Regions from separate parts of the Homo sapiens genome. Here all the other regions are linked to region 2. The links are contacts of gene promoters, found by promoter capture Hi-C in blood cells and fetal thymus (Javierre and others, 2016). All regions are on one chromosome and are shown on one strand. Each heading gives the region's core, a stretch centred on a gene start or on the middle of the fragment in contact. The rest is flanking DNA. Distances are from core to core; before and after follow the strand shown. Region 1 holds the start of WDR45 (WD repeat domain 45). Region 2 holds the start of SLC38A5 (solute carrier family 38 member 5). Region 3 holds the start of PPP1R3F (protein phosphatase 1 regulatory subunit 3F).

Region 1 (4,342 bases), core at 82-2,581, 610 kb after region 2:
GGGTCTCTGCTCTAAGCTCCCAAGATCCCAAACAACATGGCCAGGAACCCTCCTTCTTTCAGGTTTGGCAAGCTCCAGGCCCACACTGACGTGGACCCCACACCTCCTCTTTACATGCTGGCCCTCACTGACTTGTCAGGAAGTAATGTGATAGGGGGTGCCCCCGTGATATCTCCTCCCCACCGCCAGCCAATCTTGATCCCAATGCCAGACATGGCCTGGAACCACTCCCAACCCATTTCTCATCTTCAAACCTGACCTAGCACCGGACTCTCTCAATAAATAGACAAAAGTGGGCTAGGAGATGCACTTCTTGTACCTCCCTGACTTGGCCCTGGGACTGCTATGCTTGGTCTGCCATCCCCAGGAACTCCTCTGCTCATACCCTTCTAACTGTACCCCAACCTATTTGACCACCCCAGAGTCCTCTCACACCTTTCCCCCTCAACCGGCTTCCCCAAACTCCTTCAGGATGCCTACCTTGGGATGACCCCTTCTCATGCCTTGGTAACTACCCTTCAGGGCCAGCCTAGACATTCCCTTAGATTGGCTTATGCCCTGGGGACTCTACCCTAGGATTCCCCCTAGCACTCTAAATTTTCCACCCCTGGGACATCTCCTTCCTTGTGTTCTGCTGTCCTTGACTACAACATAACCTGGCCTGGACCCAACCCCAGGAACCCCCCCCATCCTCCTAAGATTCCCCCTCTAGACCCCTATCCAAGACCCCGCCCCAGGGCACCCTTGCCTTCTAAGACCCTTGCCCAAAACAAACCACCCAAAACTCCTACCTAGGAGAACCTCAACCCCTAAGATGCCTGCGCAGTCCCCTACTAAGATTACTGCCATAGAGCCCCCAACTTCCCTTCAAATCCTCAACTCCCCAATAACTCTGGCCAGACATACTCCCTCCCCCATCCTCCAAGAGTCCAAATCTCCTTCCTTTCTTTCAGTTACACCCTCCACTGGAATGCCTCATGCTCTTTCTTTGGACAGCTCTGCCTTAGAGTTATTCTCTGGACAGCTCCAACTTTCAACACCCCTTTTTTGCACCTCCATTCCAAGACTCTGTCCGGGATGCCTCGCCCCTCTCCCAAGACCAGCCGCATGCTCCTTCCAACGCCAGCACCCACTCAAGACCTCTGCCTTAGACCCCTACTCGAAAGACTTCCAGCCTCCCCCAGACCCAACCAACCCTGGGATCGTGCTCCAGCTTCCTGCCGCCTTCACCGGCCTGACCTCCGCGTGTCCCTGACCCGGGCCCCAGCTGTCGGTGCCGCCCGCGGCCCGGTTTTCTGACCTCCCGGGCCTTGGAGCCCGGCTCGGGTGTTTACATCAGGCCCTACTTCCGGGGGAGGGAGCCTGTCGCAGGAAATGACTCACCCCAGCTGGAAAAAGGCGGCCACCGCCTTCCTCGCCTAGTTCCCGGGTCTTCGGAGCATCGCGAGTGACAGTGGGGTTCTCCGGGGAGGGCGCGGGGAGCGGAGGAAGGTTGGCTGGGGGACCGGAGGCGAAGGGGGTTCCTCAAGGCCGAGACTGTCTGAGGGAACCCGGAAGGGTGGGGAGAGAGAGCGTGCCTTGCCCCCAGCAAAGCGAAACCGGCCAAGCCCTCAGCCCCTTGGTCACCCACAATGGGGGAGTAAACCTTCCCTGCTAACAAGACGCGGACCTCCGCGGCGGCCGAGAGTAGCCGCCCCGGTTCGCAACACACAGTCCTCCCAGGCTTCCAGAGGGGCGGCGCTGGGGGTTACAGGCGGGGGCGGACCTGGAGACCTTGAAAGTGGAGAAACCTCCTTGGCTCCGGGAAGCCAAGGAACAGATTTCGCTTTCTTTCTCCCCACCCTGTCCCCCCAACCCCGCCAGCTCTGAGTTTTGTCTTTTGTGTTTTGTTTAGTTTTGTTTTCTGAGACAGAGTCTCGCTCTGTCTCCCAGGCTGGAGTGCAGTGGCGCGATCTCGGCTCACTGCAACCTCCGCCTCCCGGGTTCAAACGGTTATCCTGCCTCAGCCTCCGGAGTAGCTGGGACTGCAGGCGTGCGCCACCACGCCCATCTAATTTTTGTATTTTTAGTAGAGACGGGGTTTCACCATGTTGGTCAGGCTGGTCTCGAACTCTTGACCTCAGGTTATCCACCCACCTCGGCCTCCCAAAGTGCTGGGATTACAGGCTTAAGCTACCACGCCCGGCCTCTGCTTTTATTTTTACAAAATACAAAATAGCTTTTTGATAGTAAAAGGTATGAATGCTTTGGGTTAAAAAAAAAAAAAAAAAGAGGTCCTACCTATGATAAAGCTTTTAAAAAAAGGCCCCAAATTATATGCATACTGGAAGGAATTTTTTTTTTTTTTTTTTTTTTTGATTAACAGAGTTTGGCTCTTTTTGCCCAGGCTGGAGTGCAATTAGCGCGATCTTGGCTCACCACAACCTCCGCCTCCCGGGTTCAAGGGATTCTTCTGCCTCAGCCTCCCCAGCCTCCCAAGTAGCTGGGATTACAGGCATGTGCCACCACGCCCAGCTAATTTTGTATTTTTAGTAGAGACCGGGTTTCTCCCTGTTGATCAGTCTGGTCTTGAACTCCTGACCTCAGGTGATCCGCCTGCCTCGGCCCCCCAAAGTGTTGGGATTACAGGCGTGAGCCACTGCGCCCGGCTGGAAGGATTTTTAATTAAACTTTACATTAAGAAATAATAAATAGGCTGGGCGCGGTGGCTCACGCCTGTAATCCCAGCACTTTGGGAGGCCGAAGCAGGCAGATCATGAGGTCAGGAGTTCGAGATCAGCCTGGCCAGCATGGTGAAACCCCCTCTCTACTAAAAATACAAAAAGTTAGCCAGGCATGGTGGTGCGTGCCTGTAGTCCCAGCTACTCGGGAGGCTGAGGCAGGAGAATCACTTGAAGCCAGGAGGAGGAGGTTGCAGTGAGCAGAGATCGCACCACTGCACTCCAGCCTGGGTAATAGAGTGAGACTCTGTCTCGAAAAAAAAAAAAAAAGCCGGGCGTGGTGACACGCGCCTGTAATCCTAGCTACTGGGGAGGCTGAGGCAGGAGAACCACTTAAACCTAGGAGGCGGAGGTTGCAGCAAGCCCAGATCCTGCCATTGCACTCCAGCCTGGGAGACGAGCGAAATTCCCGTCTCAAAAAAAAAGGGCTGGGCATGGTGGTGCATGCCTGTAATCCCAGCAATTTGGGAGGCCGAGGCAGGTGGATTGCCTGAGCTCAGGGGTTTGAGACCACCCTGGGTAACACGGTGAAACCTCCTCTCTACTAAAATACAAAAAATTAGCCGGGCGTGGTGGCGGGCACCTGTAAGTCCCCTACTTGGGAGGCTGAGGCAGGAGAATCATTGGAACCCAGAAGGCAGAGGTTGCAGTGAGCCAAGATCGCGCCACTGCACTCCAGCCTGGGCAACAGAGGGAAACCCTGTCTCCAAAAAAAAAAAAAAAAAAAGAATATTCTTGAAAAAAAAGAAATATGCTTTTTGCAGTGGCAGTATCATAGCCAATGAGGTTTAGCCAAGGTGTGGATATTGCTAATTGGAAACTTCCCAATACCCCGCCCCGAAGACTTGCAATATAGTCGGCATTGGCAATTTTTGACAGTCTATGAAGACTGAATATTAAAGAAAAAATACAGAGAAATCTCATACTTTTAATACAATCAGGGTTTCACATTGATGAAATCCCCCCTTTACTTTTTTTGAAGTATTGTTTTGATGCTTCTGTTTTTTCATATATTAATATATAAGAACATCTTTTTAACTCATCCTTTTTAACTGGTTCATGATATTATGTAGCATTGTTCAGCCCTTCCCCAACTGATGGCTGCCTAGGTTGTTTCAGATACTGTGTCGTCAATTCCCATGTATATATTTACTTGTGAATTTTGGCCCTATATACTCCCCTTGGCATGATTCCATTACTGTGCTCCTCAACAAGGCCAATCATCTGGCTTTCTTCAGACTCCACTTCCTCATGTCCCAGACCATATTCAACTCAATTCAATTTGGTGTTTGTCACTCCTGTGTCTTTGGGACTGCTCTTAACCAGACCACTGATGAATAATAATCTTGCCAAACCAGCAATCACTTCTCTGCCCTCTCCTGTGACTTTCTAGTGAAACCCACAATTTCTTCCTCTCACTCTCTTGGTTTTTCTTTTTCTTTCTTTCTTTTTTTTTAAGATGGAGTCTCACTCTGTCACCTAGGCTGGACTGCAGTGGCACGATCTCGGCTCACTGCAACCTCTGCTTCCTGGGTTCAAGTGATTCTCCTGCCTTAGCCTCCTGAGTAACTGAGATTACAGGCATGCACCACCACGCCCAGCTAATTTTTTTTTTTTTTTTT
Region 2 (3,431 bases), core at 1-2,500:
CTCAGAAACCCCCATTCAAGGTCCCCATTAGAGCTCAAACTGGCTCAGGAAATCCTTTTCCCAAGTCCTGAATCCCGTTCCTGGGACAGGGAGGGTCTCAAGGAGTCCCATCCCCCACCACCAGCACCCTCCGGAGCCTCCCACCCACACCTGAATTCACTTCCTGGGATCAGGGTACAAAAAGGACCTCCCCATACACGCCATTCCATTCCCCACTAGTGCTAAAATGTCTCCAAGGAACCCCGAGCCCCCTCCCAGGACCCCTACTCATATCTCAGGCCCCCAGGAACACCATCCCCGCAGCCCACGCTCCCTCCTCACCTACCTGCTCCTCTCAGCTCCTGAAGTGGCCGCAACTCAGACTCAGGTTCGGGCACCCTCTCGGCTGCCTAGGCTCCTGCTCTGGAGCGGTACTTTTTTTTTTTTCCTGAGAAGAAATGTTAATTTTAATTTCGTTTCCCTCCTTCTGGCCCTGGGCGGGGGAAGAGGTGGAGAAGGGGCGCCCCCTATCTGGACCCACTTGGAGGGAGACAGCGGTTTGTTTGTGTGTTGATGGTGGGGGAAATGGCCTGAAAGATTGAGGGTGTAGACCCACAGCTAGAGAGAGTGACAGGCAGACAGAGGGGATGGACTCACAGAGCAGACGGACAGCAGGATGGGATGGATGGCAGAAAAAGGTGCAGAGAGGAGACAGAGAGAGAGTAGGAGAACTGAAGTTACAAAGAAAGCAGGCATGAGAAACAGCACAGGAACAGACAGACCACAGAAGGGACAGAAAGACAGATGGGCGGGAGGAGGGGATGCTAGGGGAGCTTGGAAGACAGGCAGAGACAGGGAGAAAGGGACACACAGGCAGACTCAGAAACAAACAGGTGGGTAGGGATAGGCTCGTGGAAACACCTGCAGAAAGGCAACAGGCAATTGGGCTCAGTCATAGACAGGAGACACAGGCTGGCCAAGAGGTGGGGGACAGAGCCAGACAGCTCCCCAAACAGAGGGTAGGACCAGACACACCAGCTCAGAGAGATGAAGGGGCAGAGAGAGTGGTTGAGGCAGAGAGACTCCTGGAGGGACAGGAGAAAAGAGGCAGAGAGAGGCAGATTCAGGCAGAGAGGCCTGGGGACAGCAGGGGAACAGGTGCAGGGGTAGTAGCCAGGCTATTCCAGGCAGACCTCAGGCAGACAGCCTAGGCACGAGAGGACCCTAGATCTTGGGGGCCCCCAGAGGGAGGCAGGGAGGGCATTTGTGGCTGGGTGGGGAATGTGGACTGTGAACTCACACTGTCCGCAAACTGGGCGGGCACTGTAGTCCTGGACCCCACCCCAAGCGTGGGGTGGGGCTTGTCCAAGCCCTGAGAAGTCCCACTATCTGTCTGTCCGTCTGTCTTCTATGGGAGTCCGTCTGTTCACTCCCCTCCAGGCATATGACAGGCATGCCTGTCCCAGGCAAGCCACGTGTCCGCTACAGGATGTCAGGCAGGGTGGACTTGGGGTCTGGGACCACCTCGACTGGGCTGCTTGAAGCCCAGGTGGACAAGAGGCCTCTGTCTGGGCCCCTCGCCCGCCTGCCCACCCCCGACAGGGAACACAGAATTCCCGGAAAGGCCAGGAGCTGGCTGGGGCTTCAAAGCTGGCCTAGATGCCCTCACCCCACCCACAGTTGGAGGAGGACAAGGGATGGGGCGTTTACTTCCCCACAGCGGGAGAGAGACTCCTGCACACTCAGGAATCGCAGCTACACAACAGGACCCATCACAGCCCCATCAAGGGGCTCAGATACGGGGGCCAACTCGCCATCACTCACAGAGGTGCACAAAGACTCACAGCCACACAAGAGAATAAAGACTGACAGACATGAACACACACAGACTCACCACTGCACGTTAAGAGCAATGGCTCATGGGACAGTCACACACGTGGCCACACAGAGTGACGATAGTCTTACAGCTATCAATACCGACAGGCTCAGAGCCGCTCACAGAGAGCACAGACTAACACAGGGATAGGCTTGTGCCGATTTCCAGACACTCGAGACTCCTGAACCTCACCGCCCGTGGACCCACAGCCATGCCAAAGACAATCAACAGGCAAATCACACACACAGATTCACAGCCACACACAGAGCACACAATTACACACAGCTGATGACATTGTGTGTGGGTCCTGGGTCTTTCCCACACACACGATCCAGGTTCAGATGGCCCTGGATCTGAACCTGAATCCAGGTTCAGATGACCCTGGAGGCAAACTTCCAGGTTCAAGCCCTAAAATGATATCTCTGTGTATGTGAACTTGAATGTGCACTTGTGACCACATGTAACCACATACAGCTCCAGTCACAGAGAGAGGCACTCATAGGCTGACATGATTTTTGTACAAACAGAAAAGCCATAGTCTCCTTCTCTCTCTCTCTCCTCTCTCTCTCTCTCTCACACACACACACACACACAACTGCATTTCAGCAAATGGCTGCACACAGCCGTGTACACACACAGCTAGTCACAAATCAAGTCAGAAAAGAAACATATAGGGAAAGCATATACCTGCACACAAACACAAAGCACAGGAATGCAGAGTACGCTTACTATCGTTGCAAAGAAAAAATCCAGAAACCACACTGAAAGCTACACAAGGAAAAAACAAGAGAACCAGATAGTACTCATACCATGGCACCAGAAGAAACACCCCGAGGGCACACATACCTGCAGCCACTCGCTAAGAAGAGACACAAATACAGCAGCAGACACACAAAGAAAGATACGTGCGCATAGATACACATATAGGAGGGACAAGTACTCTGACACACTTGTCACCCACGACCATTACAAAGGAGACAAACACCCAAGCAACACACACACACAACAACATATAGATGAACTGCACCGACAGACAGTACCAATGCACACGGTTGCCAAAAAAAAAAAAAAAAAAAAGGTATGAGTTGGGCCGGGTGCAGTGGTTCATGCCTGTAATCCCAGCACTTTGGGAGGCCAAGGTGAGTGAATCATGAGGTCAGTAGTTCGAGACCAGCCTGGCCAACGTGGCGAAACCCCGTCTCTACTAAAAATACAAAAAAAATTAGCTGGGCGTGGTGGCGGGTTCCTGTAATCCCAGCTACTCGGGAGGCTGAGGCAAGAGAATTGCTTGAACCTGGAAGGCGGAGGTTGCAGTGAGCCAAGATCGCGCCACTGCACTCCGGCCCAAGCGACAGAGTGAGACTCCATCTCAAAAAAAAAAAAAAAAAAAAGCACAAGTTTGGCAGGCGGCCATAGACAGAACGCAGCACCAGGCAAGTTACATAGGAAGACGCAGGCACAGCTCACATACGTGTGGCTGTGGCTGAGAACGGGCAGGTGAGATACACTCAGCATATTCACACACACGTGCGCACACACTCCTGCCCAACCTCCTCCAGCCTCTGTCTCCTTTCCT
Region 3 (4,078 bases), core at 1,316-3,815, 800 kb after region 2:
GTGTGAGAGGGAAATGCTACGGCTGCTGAAAGCCAAGATCCTTGCAGAATGGGGGCTGGGGTCAGGAGGGCAGAGAGGGGTAGAGGTCGCTACCTCCCCTCTATACTGGACTATATCCTCTCTCATGGAGGGCTTCTCGGGAAGGAGACTGGGAGGGCTGGGAGTTGGGGGTGAGTAGGCAAGATTAAACGGGTCAGGAAAAGTCCCCAGAGACAGGGGCCTCTGACAAAGACTTGAAGGAGATGAGGGAGGGAGCCAGCTAGATATCTGAGGAACTCCAAAGGAAACAGCCAGGGCAAAGGTCCTGAGGTGGGAATGTACCTGATTTGTTCAAGGTCTACAAGGGGGCTGGTGTGGTTAGTGTGGAGAGAGCAAGAAGAGAAGCTGGAGGTGAGGTCAGAAAGGGGACTCGGAGGTTAGACCACGCAGGACCTTGTAGGCCATGGTAAGGACTTTGGCTTCAACGCTGAGTGAGGAGGAAGGCATGACAGGGTTGCAAGCAGAGGAGAAACACAAACCGTGTTAGGATTTAACAGGAAGCCCCTGAATGCTGAGTGTACAATGGGGTCTAGGGCCTGAATGTGGAAGCAGGGGACCAGCAAGGAGCTGGCTACTGCAGTAGTCTAGGTGACTGGTGATAGTGCTGGCAGTGGAGGTGGTGAGAAGAGGATGGATTTGGTAAATATTTTTAATAGACAGCCAAAAGGATTTGTTGAAGACTGAGAGTCTTGGAGCCAGATCGGGACAGACAATGCCCAAACCAGGTGGGCAGGAAGGAGTCCCTGGACTATTTGCCAGCTTGAACTTTTAGGTGAGAAAAAAATAAAGTTCTGTCTTGCTTAAGCCCCCATTATTTTATGATTTTTCTGTTACTTGCAGCTGAACATATTCATTTCTAACTCATGGACATCCTGAACATGGAGACCTGGGGAGAGGGGCTGCTGGAAGGATCACCTCCCTCCTAGGATGCTGTGAGGTTCTAATGAGATAACAGCATGCTCAGAACCTGGCACTCAGTAGGTGTTCAGTAAATCTTCCCAGGATGGAGAAGGAATGTATGAATGGATGTGTTCAGCGGACAAAAGCTGCAGTTGAGTTCCCACAGAAGGTGAGACCCCAAAGGGAGAGCGAAAGGAGTTTACTAGATGGAAGCAGCAGAAGGAACAGCACTCTTGGGAGAGGGAACAGTAGAAGCAGAGATGGGGGGACAGAAAGAAGGGAGGTGAGGCCCCTGTGGGGTGTGGAGTGTCAGGTTGGGCAAGAAGGACAGGGCTTTGATTGTGATTCCATTAGTCAGAAGCTACCCATATGCCCAATCAACTTCTGGTAGCACACAGTCAGGTCAGTGTTTGCTGAGCTGAAATTTAAAAAAGTGAATCCTTCAGAAAGTTAAATTTCCTATTCGGCCATTCATTCAACAATAGTATCAAGTCCTGGAGAGTGCTTGCGGCTAACAATCAGGGGCATTCTTGGCTTGTGGCACTGCTCAAGAAAAGGTTGTAGTTGGGCAGGGAGGACCCAGTAAGTAACTAACTGCAACAGGACAGTCATTTTCACTTTCCTAGTTCACACACCAAGGTGTGGTCTAGGCCTTCAGGGGCTCTGGGTATTCCTGGGGCAATGGGGAGTCACGGAGGGTTAGGGAGAGGGTAACCCCATCCCTGAGAAGCACATTTTTCCTAATGGCTGCCTGCGTTCTATGGTTCTGCTGTCCGGCCACCCAATACCTCAGACTCTGTCTACACAGCGTCCTCCTCTCCAGCCTCCTTATTGGCTACTCATGCCTCCCTTCACACCACCTACACTGCCCCCGTCGGCTCTGCTTTTTTCCCCATCTTGCCTCCAAGTCCTCCCTCCGTCCCGCTGCACTATCTAGCCTCGGCATTGGCTCATCCCATACTAGTACTGTCCTTTGAGGTCTCTACGCCTTCACCCTGGCTCCCTCATTGGCTATCCGCCAGCTCTCGTCCTCGCTCCCGCCTTCAGCCTCCACCTCCATTGGCTCGGCTCCCTACACACCCGCCTCTTGGTCTCCTTTTAGCCTTCGTATTGGCTAGCTCCACCTTGGCACCACCCCTTCGAAGCCGCAGTGCACGCTCACAAGCCTCCCCATTGGCTCGCTGCAGCCATTGTCGTCATCCCACGCGTGGCTCTCCATTGGCTGTTCTCTCTCTCTAGCTACCGTTCCACCGCCTACGCAACCCGCGGGATCTCCCACTTTTTGGGCCTCTGCGTTCGTTCCCGGCTGCCCTCATCGCCTGTAGCCATTCCACTTTTCCCACCGCCCACATGCCTCTCTCGCTCAGACTTCCGCATTAGCTGTCTGCTTCTGTTTTCTTCATCATGGATTTCGCACCACCCCCATTCCGGCCTCTCCATTGATTCCTCGATCATCCCGCCCCCTACACCGCCCACTCCCGGGCATCCCCATTGGCTGCGTGCTTCTCCGGCTCTCAATTCGCTGTACGTCATCCGTGCATGGCTGCCCATTGGCCCTCTGCAATACTTGTCTTCATCTCACCGCCTATGCCCCCGTGAGCCGTACCCCTCCGCGCTGGCCTTCCCATTGGCTGCCCGCCCCTTCAGGCCCTGCCCCCGCCGGTCCCGCCGCCGGTGCCGTCGGTGCCGCCGCCGCCGCCGATATGGCGCGTACGGCCCCTGTGGAGCCCCCGCTGCGGCATTCCGCGCCCCCCTCGCCGGCCGCGGGTGAGCCCCGCACCTCGGTCGAGGCGGCGGTGGCCCCGCGGAGGGTGCTGTTCGCCGACGAGGCCTTGGGGCTGCCGCTGGCGCAGTTGCGCCGCTACCGGCCGTGGGGCGGGCCCGGGGCGGGCAAGATGGCGGCGGCGGCCGGGCAAGATGGCGGCGGCGGCGGCGGGGCCGACGAGGACGACGATGGCGAGGATGGGGATGAAGGGGAGGAGGAAGAGGAGGCTTGCCCCGAGCCCTCACCGCTGTGCCCCGTCCCCGCTGGCGGGGGGTTTTACCTGGTCCCCACATTTTCGCTGCCGCCCGCGCCGGGCCGTCTGGAGCGCTTGGGGCGCGTCATGGTGGAGCTGGAGGCGCTGCTGCCGCCTCCCGGAGCGGTCCCCGGGGGTGCCGGGGTGTGGGTGCCTGGGGGCCGCCCGCCGGTGCTGCGCGGGTTGGTACGCGTGCTGAACCGCTCCTTCGAGAAGGCGGTGCACGTGCGGGCCTCACACGACGGCTGGGCTTCCTTTTGCGACCACCCAGCGCGCTACGTCCCGCGCAGCCCGCCGTGGGCAGGAGCGGGAGGAACAGGAGCAGGAGATCCCATCCTGGATCCGGGGCTCGGCCTGGGTCCCGGCCAGGCATCCGCCTCCTCGCCCGACGACGGCGGCCGCACCGACCGCTTTGCCTTCCAGCTGCCCTTTGCTGAGGGCGCGGGCGATGGGGCGCGCCTCGACTTCGTGGTGCGCTATGAGACCCCTGAGGGCACTTTCTGGGCCAACAACCACGGCCGCAACTACACAGTCCTGCTCCGGATCGCACCCGCTCCCACACCCACTGATGCCGAAGGGCTGCCCCAGCAGCAGCAGCTGCCGCAGCTGGAGCCACAGCCCGAGTGCCAGGGTCCCGTGGAGGCTGAGGCCAGGCAGCTGAAGAGCTGCATGAAGCCGGTGAGGCGCAGGTAATGTCAGCCAGCGCCACCTCCGCCAACGCAGGGCTGTGTCTGGGATGGAGGACAAGCATTCCGGCCCAGGAACCCCTCAGGCCTGCTCTCCAGGACAGGGAGGAGGGTGCATTGAGTCAGTCAGTCAAAGAGTGATGGAGGTCAAACACGTGCTAGGCACTGTTTTAACTGGGGTTTTATTCCTCCATTTATTGAGTTCCACTGTAAAGCCCTGAACAAGACAGACATCTACCCTACCCTCAAGGATTCATACAGGCTCCTATGGGAGACAGTTTGAAAAAACAAGCAAGCAAGCAGATAGGATAAATAGGGACAAAGTTAGCTGCTGAAGGGAGTAAGGGGATAGATTGGGAGGGAATGACTGTGTCAGACATGCTGTTAAAGGGAGGGCCTTTGAGGAGGTGAGTCCCGAATGATGATAAAGAAGAG

The links. The method cuts DNA at HindIII sites, captures the fragments that hold promoters and counts their contacts. A CHiCAGO score of 5 or more calls a contact.
Region 1: the fragment with the promoter of WDR45 here is called in contact with the fragment with the promoter of SLC38A5 in region 2 in 7 of 17 cell types (non-activated CD4 T cells, naive CD8 T cells, activated CD4 T cells and 4 more); the score reaches 7.9 in non-activated CD4 T cells.
Region 3: a contact is called between the fragment with the promoter of PPP1R3F here and the fragment with the promoter of SLC38A5 in region 2, in 1 of 17 cell types (neutrophils). The highest score is 5.6, in neutrophils.

The regions. Positions count from the first base shown.
Region 1 is chrX:49,078,556-49,082,897 of GRCh38, forward strand. WDR45 (WD repeat domain 45) reads right to left here and starts at 1,332. Exons shown (of 11, transcript NM_001029896.2): 1 at 1,196-1,332. It also overlaps the pseudogene RNU4-52P. RefSeq lists enhancers at 1,283-1,783, 1,495-1,789 and silencers at 1,495-1,789, 2,032-2,101. The HindIII fragment of the contact is 3,362 bases long and covers 1-2,289 here.
Region 2 is chrX:48,469,010-48,472,440 of GRCh38, forward strand. It overlaps SLC38A5 (solute carrier family 38 member 5), which reads right to left and starts at 1,251. Exons shown (of 17, transcript NM_033518.4): 1 at 1,173-1,251; 2 at 326-427. The HindIII fragment of the contact is 10,592 bases long and covers 1-3,431 here.
Region 3 is chrX:49,267,228-49,271,305 of GRCh38, forward strand. It overlaps PPP1R3F (protein phosphatase 1 regulatory subunit 3F), which reads left to right and starts at 2,566. Exons shown (of 4, transcript NM_033215.5): 1 at 2,566-3,646. The coding sequence starts at 2,643. RefSeq lists enhancers at 1,655-2,154, 1,852-1,901 and a silencer at 2,602-2,841. The HindIII fragment of the contact is 7,823 bases long and covers 1-4,078 here.